Regions from separate parts of the Homo sapiens genome. Here all the other regions are linked to region 1. Evidence: promoter capture Hi-C in human tissues and cell types (Jung and others, 2019). All regions are on one chromosome and are shown on one strand. Each heading gives the region's core, a stretch centred on a gene start or on the middle of the fragment in contact. The rest is flanking DNA. Distances are from core to core; before and after follow the strand shown.

The links. Contacts are between HindIII fragments. The study calls those that stand out against the background at their distance.
Region 2: a contact is called between a fragment that was not itself captured here and the fragment with the promoter of SIM2 in region 1, in 2 of the 25 tissues and cell types used here (IMR-90 fibroblasts and spleen).
Region 3: a contact is called between a fragment that was not itself captured here and the fragment with the promoter of SIM2 in region 1, in 1 of the 25 tissues and cell types used here (H1 embryonic stem cells).

What each region holds. Positions count from the first base shown.
Region 1 is chr21:36,696,871-36,701,061 of GRCh38, forward strand. SIM2 (SIM bHLH transcription factor 2) reads left to right here and starts at 2,245. Exons shown (of 11, transcript NM_005069.6): 1 at 2,245-3,051. The coding sequence starts at 2,877. LOC105369308 (a long non-coding RNA gene) reads right to left here and starts at 2,121. Exons shown (of 3, transcript NR_188246.1): 1 at 2,039-2,121. LOC107985492 (a long non-coding RNA gene) reads left to right here and starts at 3,646. Exons shown (of 4, transcript XR_001755029.1): 1 at 3,646-4,191. RefSeq lists enhancers at 3,472-4,065, 4,066-4,191. The HindIII fragment of the contact is 19,577 bases long and covers 1-4,191 here.
Region 2 is chr21:36,731,463-36,735,653 of GRCh38, forward strand. The region is part of intron 7 of SIM2 (SIM bHLH transcription factor 2); the gene reads left to right. Among named protein-coding and RNA genes, the nearest start is that of SIM2, 34 kb to the left of the region's middle. The HindIII fragment of the contact is 5,714 bases long and covers 1-4,191 here.
Region 3 is chr21:36,662,841-36,667,031 of GRCh38, forward strand. All of the region lies in intron 1 of LOC105369308 (a long non-coding RNA gene), which reads right to left. Among named protein-coding and RNA genes, the nearest start is that of SIM2, 34 kb to the right of the region's middle. The HindIII fragment of the contact is 5,223 bases long and covers 1-4,191 here.

The sequences.
Region 1 (4,191 bases), core at 995-3,494:
GGGCAGCTGCTGGGCAGGCGTTGGGCCTGGAGGTATCTCACACCCACGTATCTTCCAGTCTTCAAACACGGCATTGCTCTGCCTCCCGTAGCGCGCTTCGAACCTGCCTCGCGGACACGTGAACAGAGGCTGTCCCTGGGAAGATAAGTGCGCTTTCCCGTAAAATCCGGGAAATTTGCCTTGAGGAAAGTTTCCGTTCTTGTTACTTGTCGGGTTTCTCCCACTTCCACTTAGCCATGTTTCTGCGATCTGGGTAATCCCTTTCAAGCCCAGGAGGAATTCTCCCGGGTCCATAATTGAGGGTCGGAAGCCGTGGGGGTGAGAAACGCATTAAATCCTCCCGAAGCCCAGGAGGTGCCAGAGCGGGCTCAGGGGGCCGCCTGCGGAAGCTGCGGCAGGGGCTGGGTCCGTAGCCTCTAACCCCTTGGAGCTCCTTCTCCCAGAGGCCCGGAGCCGGCAGCTGTCAGCGCAGCCAGGAGCGGGATCCTGGGCGCGGAGGTGGGTCCGACTCGCCAGGCTTGGGCATTGGAGACCCGCGCCGCTAGCCCATGGCCCTCTGCTCAAGCCGCTGCAACAGGAAAGCGCTCCTGGATCCGAAACCCCAAAGGAAAGCGCTGTTACTCTGTGCGTCCGGCTCGCGTGGCGTCGCGGTTTCGGAGCACCAAGCCTGCGAGCCCTGGCCACGATGTGGACTCCGCAAGGGGCTAGGGACAGGCAGGGGGAGAGCCCGGGTTTGCGCACACCTTCCAGCCCCTGGAGGGAGCCTGCTCGGCTTCGAACGCCTTCGAACTTTTGACCTTCAAAGGAGTCCCTGGAAAAGGTCAGGAGCGCCTGCTGCAGGCACGGTTGCCGAAGGCCAGGCCTTCCTGGCGCAGGGGAGGGCCAGGGGAGGGAAGCGGATACTCAGTCGCTGTCCGACGGCGAGTTTTCGGAGCAGCAGGCTCATGATCCCGGGCCAGTGGCGAGAGCAGTGACACCGAGAACCCAAATCTCCGCGCCCCCATCCGCGGCCCGGTGTCCTCCCGGCCCCTGCTGACCTCCAGGTCACGCACCCCACTGCTCCACGGCTCTGCAGCCTGTGGCACACGGCCGAGAGTCCCCACATGATCTCGACGCCAAGGTAAGGAATTGCCCTGCGTCCTCTGAGCCTGTCTCTGGCCTGGGGGGCCGGGAAAGCTGCACTCCTGGAAGAGGTGGGGTTATGTGACCGCCGCTGCAGGGGTGCGCGGAGGACTCCTGGGCCGCACACCCATTTCCAGGCTGCGGGAGCCGGACAGGGGAGGGCAGAGGGGGGACAAAAGGACTCTTTAGGTCCAAAATGACCCTGAAGGAGAGTCCAGAATGCCCAGTGGCCGCGTCTGCAACGGAGTCTTCTTTCTCCAATTGCCTTCTGCCCCATCACCATGGGCCCCACCTGCGCCACCTGCGCCCACCCTGTGACCCTGGCTCAGCGACCTTGGCCCTTAATCGCCCAACGCCGATTCCTCAAAATTCCGGCTGCGCTGAATCGGGCTGCTTTTGCCGCCGCCCCGGCAGTTGGGCCCTGTTTCCGCCGGCGCCCTGGGAGAGGCCTCACCACTCGGCTGGGCTCCCTGGCCCCTCCCTTCCCCTGGCCTGAGCGCCCCTGCGGCCTCCCGCTCCTCCTGAGAAGGCGACAATCTCTTTGCACCTTAGTGTTTCGAGGACAGAAAGGGCAGAAGGGTCACTTCGGAGCCACTCGCGCCGTTTTCACGTGTGTGTGTAATGGGGGGAGGGGGGCTCCCGGCTTTCCCCTTTTCAGCTCTTGGACCTGCAACACCGGGAGGGCGAGGACGCGGGACCAGCGCACCCTCGGAAGGCTCGATCCTCCCCGGCAGGGCGCCTGGCCAACGAGTCGCGCCGCCTCCTCTCGGCCGCGCCTGCTGGTGACCTTCCCGAGAGCCACAGGGGCGGCCTCGGCACCCCTCCTTCCCTCGCCCTCCCTGCCGCCCATCCTAGCTCCGGGGTCCGGCGACCGGCGCTCAGGAGCGGGTCCCCGCGGCGCGCCGTGTGCACTCACCGCGACTTCCCCGAACCCGGGAGCGCGCGGGTCTCTCCCGGGAGAGTCCCTGGAGGCAGCGACGCGGAGGCGCGCCTGTGACTCCAGGGCCGCGGCGGGGTCGGAGGCAAGATTCGCCGCCCCCGCCCCCGCCGCGGTCCCTCCCCCCTCCCGCTCCCCCCTCCGGGACCCAGGCGGCCAGTGCTCCGCCCGAAGGCGGGTCTGCCATAAACAAACGCGGCTCGGCCGCACGTGGACAGCGGAGGTGCTGCGCCTAGCCACACATCGCGGGCTCCGGCGCTGCGTCTCCAGGCACAGGGAGCCGCCAGGAAGGGCAGGAGAGCGCGCCCGGGCCAGGGCCCGGCCCCAGCCGCCTGCGACTCGCTCCCCTCCGCTGGGCTCCCGCTCCATGGCTCCGCGGCCACCGCCGCCCCTGTCGCCCTCCGGTCCGGAGGGGCCTTGCCGCAGCCGGTTCGAGCACTCGACGAAGGAGTAAGCAGCGCCTCCGCCTCCGCGCCGGCCGCCCCCACCCCCCAGGAAGGCCGAGGCAGGAGAGGCAGGAGGGAGGAAACAGGAGCGAGCAGGAACGGGGCTCCGGTTGCTGCAGGACGGTCCAGCCCGGAGGAGGCTGCGCTCCGGGCAGCGGCGGGCGGCGCCGCCGGGTTGCTCGGAGCTCAGGCCCGGCGGCTGCGGGGAGGCGTCTCGGAACCCCGGGAGGCCCCCCGCACCTGCCCGCGGCCCACTCCGCGGACTCACCTGGCTCCCGGCTCCCCCTTCCCCATCCCCGCCGCCGCAGCCCGAGCGGGGCTCCGCGGGCCTGGAGCACGGCCGGGTCTAATATGCCCGGAGCCGAGGCGCGATGAAGGAGAAGTCCAAGAATGCGGCCAAGACCAGGAGGGAGAAGGAAAATGGCGAGTTTTACGAGCTTGCCAAGCTGCTCCCGCTGCCGTCGGCCATCACTTCGCAGCTGGACAAAGCGTCCATCATCCGCCTCACCACGAGCTACCTGAAGATGCGCGCCGTCTTCCCCGAAGGTGAGGCCTCAGGTGGGCGGCCGGGGACGCTGGGGAGCCCGGCGGCCCCGGCCCAGGCGGGAAGCGCAAGCCAGCCCGCCCAGAGGGGTTGCCGCGGCCTGGCGTCCAGAGCTGGGGCGTCTGAGGGAGGTTGCGTGAGGGTCTTCGGCTTCGGCGCTGGCTTGGGGCGAGGGGCCAGGGCCTTGGCGGCCCAGGCGACCAAACCCTCTCCTGGTCCAGGGCTGGGTGAGGGCGAATTACGAATTGTTCCAGGGGCAGGCAGTCCCCCAGCCCGCACGGCCAGCGAGTTCTTTCTGGTTTTGTTCTTTCTCCCTTTCCTCCTTCCTTCCTTCGCCAGTGCATTCTGGTTTGGTTTGGATTTTTTTCTCTCTTTCTTTCCTTTCTTTCTTTCTTTCTCTTTCTTTTTCTTTCTTTCTTCCTCTTTCTTTCATTCTCCCCTTCCTTCCTTCCTTGGCCCCCTCTCTCCCTCCCTCCTTCCTTCCTTCCTTTGCCAATGCATTGGTTTGTTTTCTTTCCTTTTCTGCTTTCCTTCCTTTCTTTGGAAGTTCACTCTGGTTTTGCTTTCTTTCTTTCCCCATCCCTTCCTTTCTTTATCCCTCCTTCCCTTCCTCCTTTTCTTTCTACGATTCCCTTTATTTTTCCTTCATTCCTCCCTCTTTTTGTCTCTTCTGGAGGAGGTGAAGGAGGGTCAGCTTCAGGCGCTGCGAGTCAGCGGGGATCACGGTGAGGCCCAAGCACTGCAGGCTGAGGCCACAGAGCGAACACTTGTGCTGAGCCGGGCCCTCTCGTGAGGCTGGGGTGCGGGAAGTCCGGGCAGGAGAGACCCGCCCCCGCCGTTGCTGAGCTGAGACCCGGCTGAAAGAGAGGGGTCCGATTAATTCGAAAATGGCAGACAGAGCTGAGCGCTGCCGTTCTTTTCAGGATTGAAAATGTGCCAGTGGGCCAGGGGCGCTGGGACCCGCGGTGCGGAAGACTCGGAACAGGAAGAAATAGTGGCGCGCTGGGTGGGCTGCCCCGCCGCCCACGCCGGTTGCCGCTGGTGACAGTGGCTGCCCGGCCAGGCACCTCCGAGCAGCAGGTCTGAGCGTTTTTGGCGTCCCAAGCGTTCCGGGCCGCGTCTTCCAGAGCCTCTGCTCCCAG
Region 2 (4,191 bases), core at 1,257-3,756, 35 kb after region 1:
CAGTGGAAGACTGCTAGTTATGGAGCTCTTACTGCTGTCGGGCACTAAGTTTAAGTGACTAAATACATTACCAGCCCAGTGAGGGAGGGTCTCACTGTCATGATCCTCATTTTACCAGTGAGGATGCTGAGGTCCAGATAGGTTAAGCCGCTTGCCCACCTTCATACAGCTGGATGGTAGCGGAGTTGGAAGCTGAACCCACGCAGAGCCCTGCCTCCGACTGCTATACCCCAGCCAGCTAGGGGAAGCCCAGGGAGGCCACCATTCCACGATGGGAGAGGTCATCTTGGGACGGGGTGAACAAACACCAATTTGATTTGCCAACGGAGGCGGTTTGGGAACATCAGGATATAGAGGCGGATGCTCTAGTCACTGAAATGTTTAAAGAAGTGACACTTTTCTTTTACTTTTTTAAAATCTAAAAAAAAAAATCTTTTTGAGACAGAGTCTTGTTCTGTTGCCCAGGCTGGAGTGCAGTGGCATGAACTTGGCTCACTGCAACCTCCGCCTCCTGGGTTCAAGCAATTCTCCTGCTTCAGCCTCCCAAGTAGCTGGGATTATAGGTGCATGCCACCACGCCTGGCTAATCTTTGTATTTTTAGTAGAGACGGGGTTTCACCATGTTGGCCAGGCTGATCTCGAACTCCTGACCTCAGGTGATCCATTTGTCTCCGCCTCCCAAAGTGCTGGGATTACAGGCATGAGCCACCGCACCCAGCCACACACTTTCAGAATCCAAATGGAGGCAAAGACTAATTTGGATGGAGTGGAATGCCTCATCCTCCTGCTGTCCAGCCCTGCCACGCCCATGGCCAGTCGGGGGTGCTTTATAATGGGGTGCAGACAGTTAGAGGAGCTGGGTCTTCTGCAGTGTGGCCCAGATGGCATGTCCTCTGTTCTTGCTCTGCCTTCTGTTGGCTCAGGGACGTTAGAGGACAGGTTGCCAGTGTCGAGTGGGAGGGGGACGGCAGGCCCGCAGGCCGCTAGGTCCACAGATGCGTGGTGTGCTGGGCTCCGTGTGGACTGGGACCCGGGAACTCGATACTCCCAGGGTGTCGCTGTTGCTCTTCCCTCCCCAAATCTCTATGGACAGAAACCCGTGACAACCAGGACTTATGGCTGAGCAGGCACAGACGGCTTCTTCCTTGCTCCTTGACTCATGTGGAGACTTGGAGGTGTGAACAACCCTTTTGTGTCTTTTGTTAAAGACCAAATCATGATCTCATAACCATCTCTGTCATTCTGGAGACCAAGCTTGGTAGAGAAGCAGCTGCTTAGTGTTCGGATGGAACTTCTCCGTCGGTGTCACTAATATGGGAGCTAGAAAGTTTTCTTGAGCAAACTGGGTATGGTGTGTCAATTCTAGAATCAGATATCCAGGAGACTTGATCAGGCGGGTGTGAAGAGCAGAGTGGAGGGGCTCTGCAGTAGCAAGAGCAGTTGGGAGACGGGAGAGGCATTTGCCTCGAGGGCATAGAGCTGTGCTGTGCCCTAGAACAGTCTGGGACTTGGAGAGTGAAGGTGAGGGCTCATACCTCCACACGCTCCCCCTGCCACTGTTGGGGCGGAGGGGCTGACCAGCTGTTCTAAGGGAAAGCCCCAGCCCTGGGGGGTCTGGAGCCCCCTTCCATGGAGGCAGGAGAATGCTGGGGAGTTTAAAGCATACCCCCGAATTACAGCAAGAGAAGACTTGCTCTTCACAGCGGGCTGAAAGGCAGGAAATTAGGCCTCTAAGCACAGAGACAAAACTGAGGGAATCAAAAATCTCTTTTTTTTTAATGAGATGGAGTCTCGCTCTGTTGCCCAGGCTGGAGTGCAGTGGCATGATCTCAGCTCACTGCAGCCTCTGCCTCCTGGGTTCAAGCAATTCTCGTGTCTCAGCCTCCCAAGTAGCTGGGATTACAGGTGCCCACCACCACGCCTGGCTAATTTTTTTAGTTTTAATACAGACAGGGTTTTGCCATGTTGAGCAGGCTGGTCTTGAACTCCTGACCTCAAGTGGGACTACGGGTGTGAGCCACTGCACCTAGACAAAAGTCTTCTTTTTAAATACCATGTCTTTTATCTCACACTGCCTGGCTAACCCAGGAAGCAGGGATTTTTTTTTTTTTTTTTCAGACAGAGTCTTGCTCTGTCACCCAAGCTGGAGTGCAGTGGTGCGATCTCGGCTCACTGCAAGCTCCTCTTCCCGGGTTCATGCCATTGCCCTGCCTCAGCCTCCCAAGTAGCTGGGACTACAGGCGCCCGCCAGCAAGCCTGGCTAATTTTTTTTGTATTTTTAGTAGAGACGGGGTTTCACCGTGTTAGCCAGGATGGTCTCAATCTCCTGACCTCGTGATCCGCCCGCCTCGGCCTCCCATAGTGCTGGGATTACAGGCGTGAGCCACCATGCCCGGCCCGAAGCAGGGATTTTTTTCCCCATTTGCTTTGGAACAGTCATGAAGCCCACAGTGGTGCTCAGTCAGTGCCTCCTCTGTGTCCATCATGGGTAGATGCTTTCACTTATAGACTCTGACCTGCGGGCAGTTTGGGGAGCTGTGTCCCTCTCGTGCCCTTTTCCCAGGTGATCAGGGTGAGACTCAGGGGACACTTGTCCAAGGGCAGCAGTGGAGCTGGGGCAGGACCAAAGTCCAGCCCATTGGCTGTCGTGCTGTCAGCCGTCACCACCACACCACACCACACCACGGGGCTTAACCTTGGAGATGTGGGCTGGTGGCTGTTCTGTAGGATCCCAGCCCTCCTGAGCTTGCCTGGCTCACCAGACCCACAAGGTGATTTTATTTGAGGGGTCTTCTGTGGTTTATATGATGAAGCCACTTTATCTCACAGGAAGTTTCCAGATATTGAAGTTGTCCAAGGGGACTCTGAAAGGGCAAGCAGGCACAGGCTCAAAAAGGTAGGCGTGTTTAGAAATTAGACGGGGCATGGCTTTCTTTTCCAAATGAGCCAGAATTGGTAATTCAAAGAAAACAGAAAATAGCAAGATTGACAGTGATTGCTACTGTCCTGTGACTCTGACCTTAGCTGTGCTAGAGAAACAACCAGAAAAGACTGCACCCCAGCCAGGCCGGTGGGTTGGTGTGGTCTTGGAGTTCACCATGAGTGTGCCTGCCTCAGTTTCCCCTGGCAGCTTTGAGAGGGAGGGGAAGCAAGGATAGTCTCAGATGATGGGGAGTTCTTTGGTTCCAGCGTGGGAACCACCTGCAGGGCTGAGCAGCAGCCTCCCCTCAGAGCACTCAACTGGAATGTCACACGCCTCTCCAAAGCTAGAACTCTCTGGGAAGACAGTCAACTCCCAAGCAGGGTCTTCAGAGTCGGGGTCTTCATGGTATGGAGCTTTGTGATTGTGGAGGCCTCACTCTCCTTCCCAGGTACAGAACCTGGGCCAGAGGGGCCAACCCCAGGCCTCCTGTTCCTGCCTCTCCATCCCCAGGGCTGGGTGGCACCTGTTTGATTTCCTGAAACTCCAGAAGCTGCCCCAGAGCCTGGAGTTGAAGTGCAATGGTTGATTTGGACAGTGACTAGACATGGCCAGGGGAGGAGTGAGCCAGAGAAGAGAAGGAGCCACAAAGGGTGTTGTCCACTGGCTACAGCCGAGGGAGGCTGGCGCTCAACGCCGGGGATACCCCAGAGCCAGTGTCATCAAGCAGAGGGGAGAGTGAGCTGAGGTATTGATACCCCTGTGCCTGTCAGTCAGTAGCTGGAGGGCAGCTCTCAGGGGGCCTTGATTGCCTGGCTTACCCCCAACATGGTCAGGGTGGGCCCTGCCAAAGAAAGGCCTCAGTGGGGGAGAACAGGTCAGGCCAGTGGATGTGGCTGGGCCAGAGCAAGGCTGATGTCTTCACAGCCTGTCGTCAGCTTCCTCCCTGCTGGGCCTTCATCCAGGCTGTGTTAAGATGTTCTCTGTTCTAACCTTCCACAAGTTTCTCCCTTCCGAGCCCTGTCTGTCATCTTTCCCTTGTCCACAGAGGCCACGCCTCTCTCTGGGGGTCCCTGTTGGCTGACAGGAGCGTCCTTACACCCACACCACTGCTGTGTGAGGGCTGAGGGAAGCCCATCCCCCACACTCTCCAGCTCTGTCTCCACTCCTGGCTTTGTACCAATAGCTGCTGCTCTCCTCTTGGGGACATGTGCCCCACTGCTGCTTGGCCCCACAGAGTCCCAACCAAGGGACCTCAGGTCTGGACGATG
Region 3 (4,191 bases), core at 461-2,960, 35 kb before region 1:
GTTGGCCAGGCACTGTGGGTCATACCTGTAATCCCAGCACTTTCAGAGGCTGAGGCAGGAAGATTGCTTAAGCTCAGGAGTTTGACACCAACCTGGGCAATATAGTGAGACCCATCTCTATAAAAATTACAAAAAAAATTAGCCAGGCGTGGTGGTTCATGCCTGAAGTCTTAGCTGCTCCGGAGGCTGAGGCAGGAGGATTGCTGGAGTCCAGGACGTCGAGGCTGCAGTGAGTCATGATTGTGCCAGTGCACTCCAGCCTGGGAGACAGAGCAAGACCCTGTCTCAAAAAAAAAAAAAAGTAAAGTCCATAAACTAGCTTCATATAAAAACTCCGGTATATACAACGACAGATATTTCATCATCTCTGGCCCCTAGCAAATAGTTGCATCCTTGAGTGAATCATTTCAGCTCTCTGTGACTTTGTAATTCCAATCTTATATCCTGTACACTGCCTAGTGCCTTCTGGAAATAAATGGGAACATGCCTGAACTTTCCAGATAAATTTACCAGCCCTTTAGCCCTTCCCCTCTCGGCTCTCTGTTTCTTCCCTGTTTCTCGAGAACACGCACATGGTTTACAGCGTGCTTTACAGCGTTTCAAGCCCAAACAGAACACGCTCCACAGGGAAGGGGCTGATTGGTTTAGTTTTCAGGCAGCCCCGCGAGGGGTGGTAATTGACACTTGAACAATGACATGTTGCATTCCTTCATATCGCAGCAGTAATTGAACACACATGAACCCCCTGCACTGGTGACCCTGGAGTGTGCCACACACCTGGAAATAGTGAGGTTCAATTAATATGTCACCGCCACTAAGCAGCTACCAGTGAGAACCACCAGTCAGCTGCCACAGCCCAGCGGTCACAGAACAAAGCAGAGAGCAATGCGGGGTGAACCCCGGGAGCTGCTGCTCCCCTGCAGAGCTTCCCCGGACTGGCCCCTAAAATCTGGTTTTCCCAAAAAAACTTACTCACTTTTAATGACTCCAATTAATTTTATCTAACAGCTTTGTTCACCTCTCCCTCAAAGAGTTATTTTTGCATTAAAATAGCAAAATGCTCAACTAGAAGGGGACGGCAATGACCCAGCTAAATTTTTGTGATGACACTTTTAATATAAAAAACAGATCAGAAATGGAATATGATATGAATATGAATATGAAAGGCGGGATTCAAGCCAAGGAAATAAAGAAAGAATGATGGATTCCACCTCTTTCATTCAGTCCCTTGAGTATTTGTGGTGTGCTGACAGTAGCCCGGGGTTACTGCAGAGATTATTGCAAGCCTGGCAGCTGCTCTTCCAGAGCTCACAGACTCGGGGTGATAGCACAATGATGTGGGACAAATCCCCCGAGGCAGAGAATGGGGCACCCAGGGCAGCCTCATCAGTGCCCTCCCCTCATCTGGAAATCTCAGGAGACTTCCTGGAGGAAGCTGCATCTAAGCTGGAGAAGCAGCAGGAGTGAGGAGGGGAAGAGAAGGGAGAGGGGAGAGGGGTCCAGGCAGAGGCCAGCACTGCCAAGGCTGTGAGGCCAGAGAGAAAGTGGCAACATGAGGAGGGGGTGCAGAAGGAAAAGGGGAGTTTGGAAGCCAAGGTCAGAAGTGGGCACTTCCATTTCAGAGCCTAGTTACACTTTTTCCAGAACCAATAGCTATTCTCCTCCTTAAACACACACACACACACACACACACACACACACACACACACACAGAGAGAGAAAGAGCGAGAGAGAATATTAGCATTCAAACAAGAGTAAAGCTACAATTTTGGCATATTCTTGGAAGAGAGGAAAATGGACATTTCATTTTATATTTAATAAATTCCATTTAATTAATTAACAAAACCTGGCAGCACTCCCCGAATGAATGAAAATCTGCCAAATCTGAAGGCCAACAACGCTGTTGCACAAAGTCTGACAACTTGCTGTCCCTGGCCACACCCCAGCCCAGATCTCCCTGCCAGCCTTGTCATTTTGTCGTGCGTTTGCTGGCAGTGGCACGCAGCGGGTTACTTCGGGTCTCTGGGCTCAGGCTTCCCCTGTAAGGTGAGGAGCTGTGACTTAGGTATACTGCACTTTAGCACTGGGATTGGCCTCCAGAGAGAACAGGGGCAATCCGGGACACCCCGCTGGTCCCTCTGTGACCCACTCTTGGCCCTTAAGCTCCCTAAGGAGGGAGGTCTCCTGTCTATACAGGACCAATCTAGGCTACTCTAGACATCAAGATACTGTAGGGTGCTTCCAGTTAGGCAGGTGTTTCTCTCTCTCTCTCTCTCTCTCTTTTTTTTTTTTTTTCAGACAGAGTCCCTCTGTCACCCAGGCTGGAGTGCAGTGGCGCAGTCTCGGCTCACTGCAACCTCTGCCTCCTGGGTTCAAGCGATTCTCCTGCCTCAGCCTCTCGAGTAGCTGGGATCACAGGCATGCACCACCACGCCCAGCTAATTTTTGTATTTTTGGTACAGATGGAGATTCACAGTGTTGGCCATGCTGGTCTCGAACTCCTGACTTCGTGATCTGCCCGTCTTGGCCTCCCAAAGTGCTGGGATTACAGGCATGAGCCATCATGCCCGGCCAACATGTGTTTATCTCTACACTCTCCTCAAATCTCACTAAAATGACAGTAAAGGCAAAAAAAGGAACACACTTGCAGAGACAACAAGGTCAGGAGAAGAAACCGTGGAATATGAGAAAGCTTAGCAATATTTTGAAGGGAGAACAATGCATGGGCTAATGGTCTCTGGCTTAGCGGGCTGGAGAGAGATGAGCCCTGCCAGCTGGAGTGAGGTGGAGGGGGTGAGCCCTCAAGAAACAAGATGATTTCTGATCCAGAATCACAGAAACACTCAGAAATCAGGGGCTCCATATATATATATATATATATATATTTTTTTTTTTTTTGACATAGGGTCTCACATTGTCACCCAGGCTGGAGTTCTGTGGCATGATCTCGGCTCACTGCAGCCTTGACCATCCAGGTTCAAGTGACCCTCCTGCCTCAGCCCTCCAAGTAGCTGGGTCTACAAAGGCACACCACCACACTCAGCTAATTTTTTTTTTTTTTTGTATTTTTAGTAGAGACAGGGTTTCACCATGTTACTCAGGCTAGTCTCAAACTCTTGAGCTCAAGCGATCCGCCCGCCTCAGCCTCCCAAAGTGCTAGGATTTCTGGCATGAGCCACGGCACCCGGCCAGCCCCAGGTATTTCTGAATGTGAGAGTACACCAGCAAGCTGCGGAGGAGGGTTGGTTGGAAGACTGTGCAGGGGAAGGCAGACCCTCAGGCCCCTCCTGGGTGCACCAGTGTTGCTGGTGCTGCTCACCTGATCTCTGAATGTCTGCTGCTTGCCCTCCCCTTCAGAATACTGGATATTTCCTCTCTGACCAGGTGAACCAGAGAGGCTCAGGGCACTGGATCCAGCTGAGGGCAGCAGAATGAAAAGCATGCTCACTGAACAGGGAGATAAACCCACCCCATCCAATGGTGTTGAAAAGTATGGTGTAGTCTTGGAGGGACCAGTGTTCCCAAACTTGCAGGATATCGCCGGAACCCAAACTGAAATTATGGTTTAATGCCTCTCAAAACTGGTGAGCCCACTGTTCTTCTCACATGTATCTCCATATGTGGACGTGCACCAGAGCCTTTTTCTACCCTCTGAAGGAGAGAAGCGTTCTGTTTAGGGGCTCGTAGAAGAGAGGAACATGAGAAGGCTGAGAAGAGTGGAGGACCCAACAGAGAACTACCATCTCCAGTCTCCCAGGCTGGGTTGAGCCTCAGCAGAAAAGCGTGTTGACCTCAGCACGGGCAGTGGAAAACCAGACATCCAATGTGTTTGCAAGAAATATTCATTTAGATTCACAGAGCTCTTGGTCTAAGCCTAGGATCTTGGTAGGAGAGGGAGGCGGGGGTCTTTGGCCTCTGGGATTCATTGTATCAACCACCAGCAATCTTTGGAATGGGCCAGCTGCTCCCTAGGCCAGAGCTGTTAGGGCTGGAGGCGGGGAGGCCATTTGGACAGTTGAAGAACTCTGTAAAACTACCTTATGCACCTGCAGGTAAAGTCACATTTTGGGGTTATCAAAGTCTAAATTAAATGGTACATAGTATAATTAGTGCTGGATTGGGAAAGAGAAGAATTGCTCATTATATACCCACCGCTGTCATTATTGGGACAAAACGATCTTCCACTGGCCC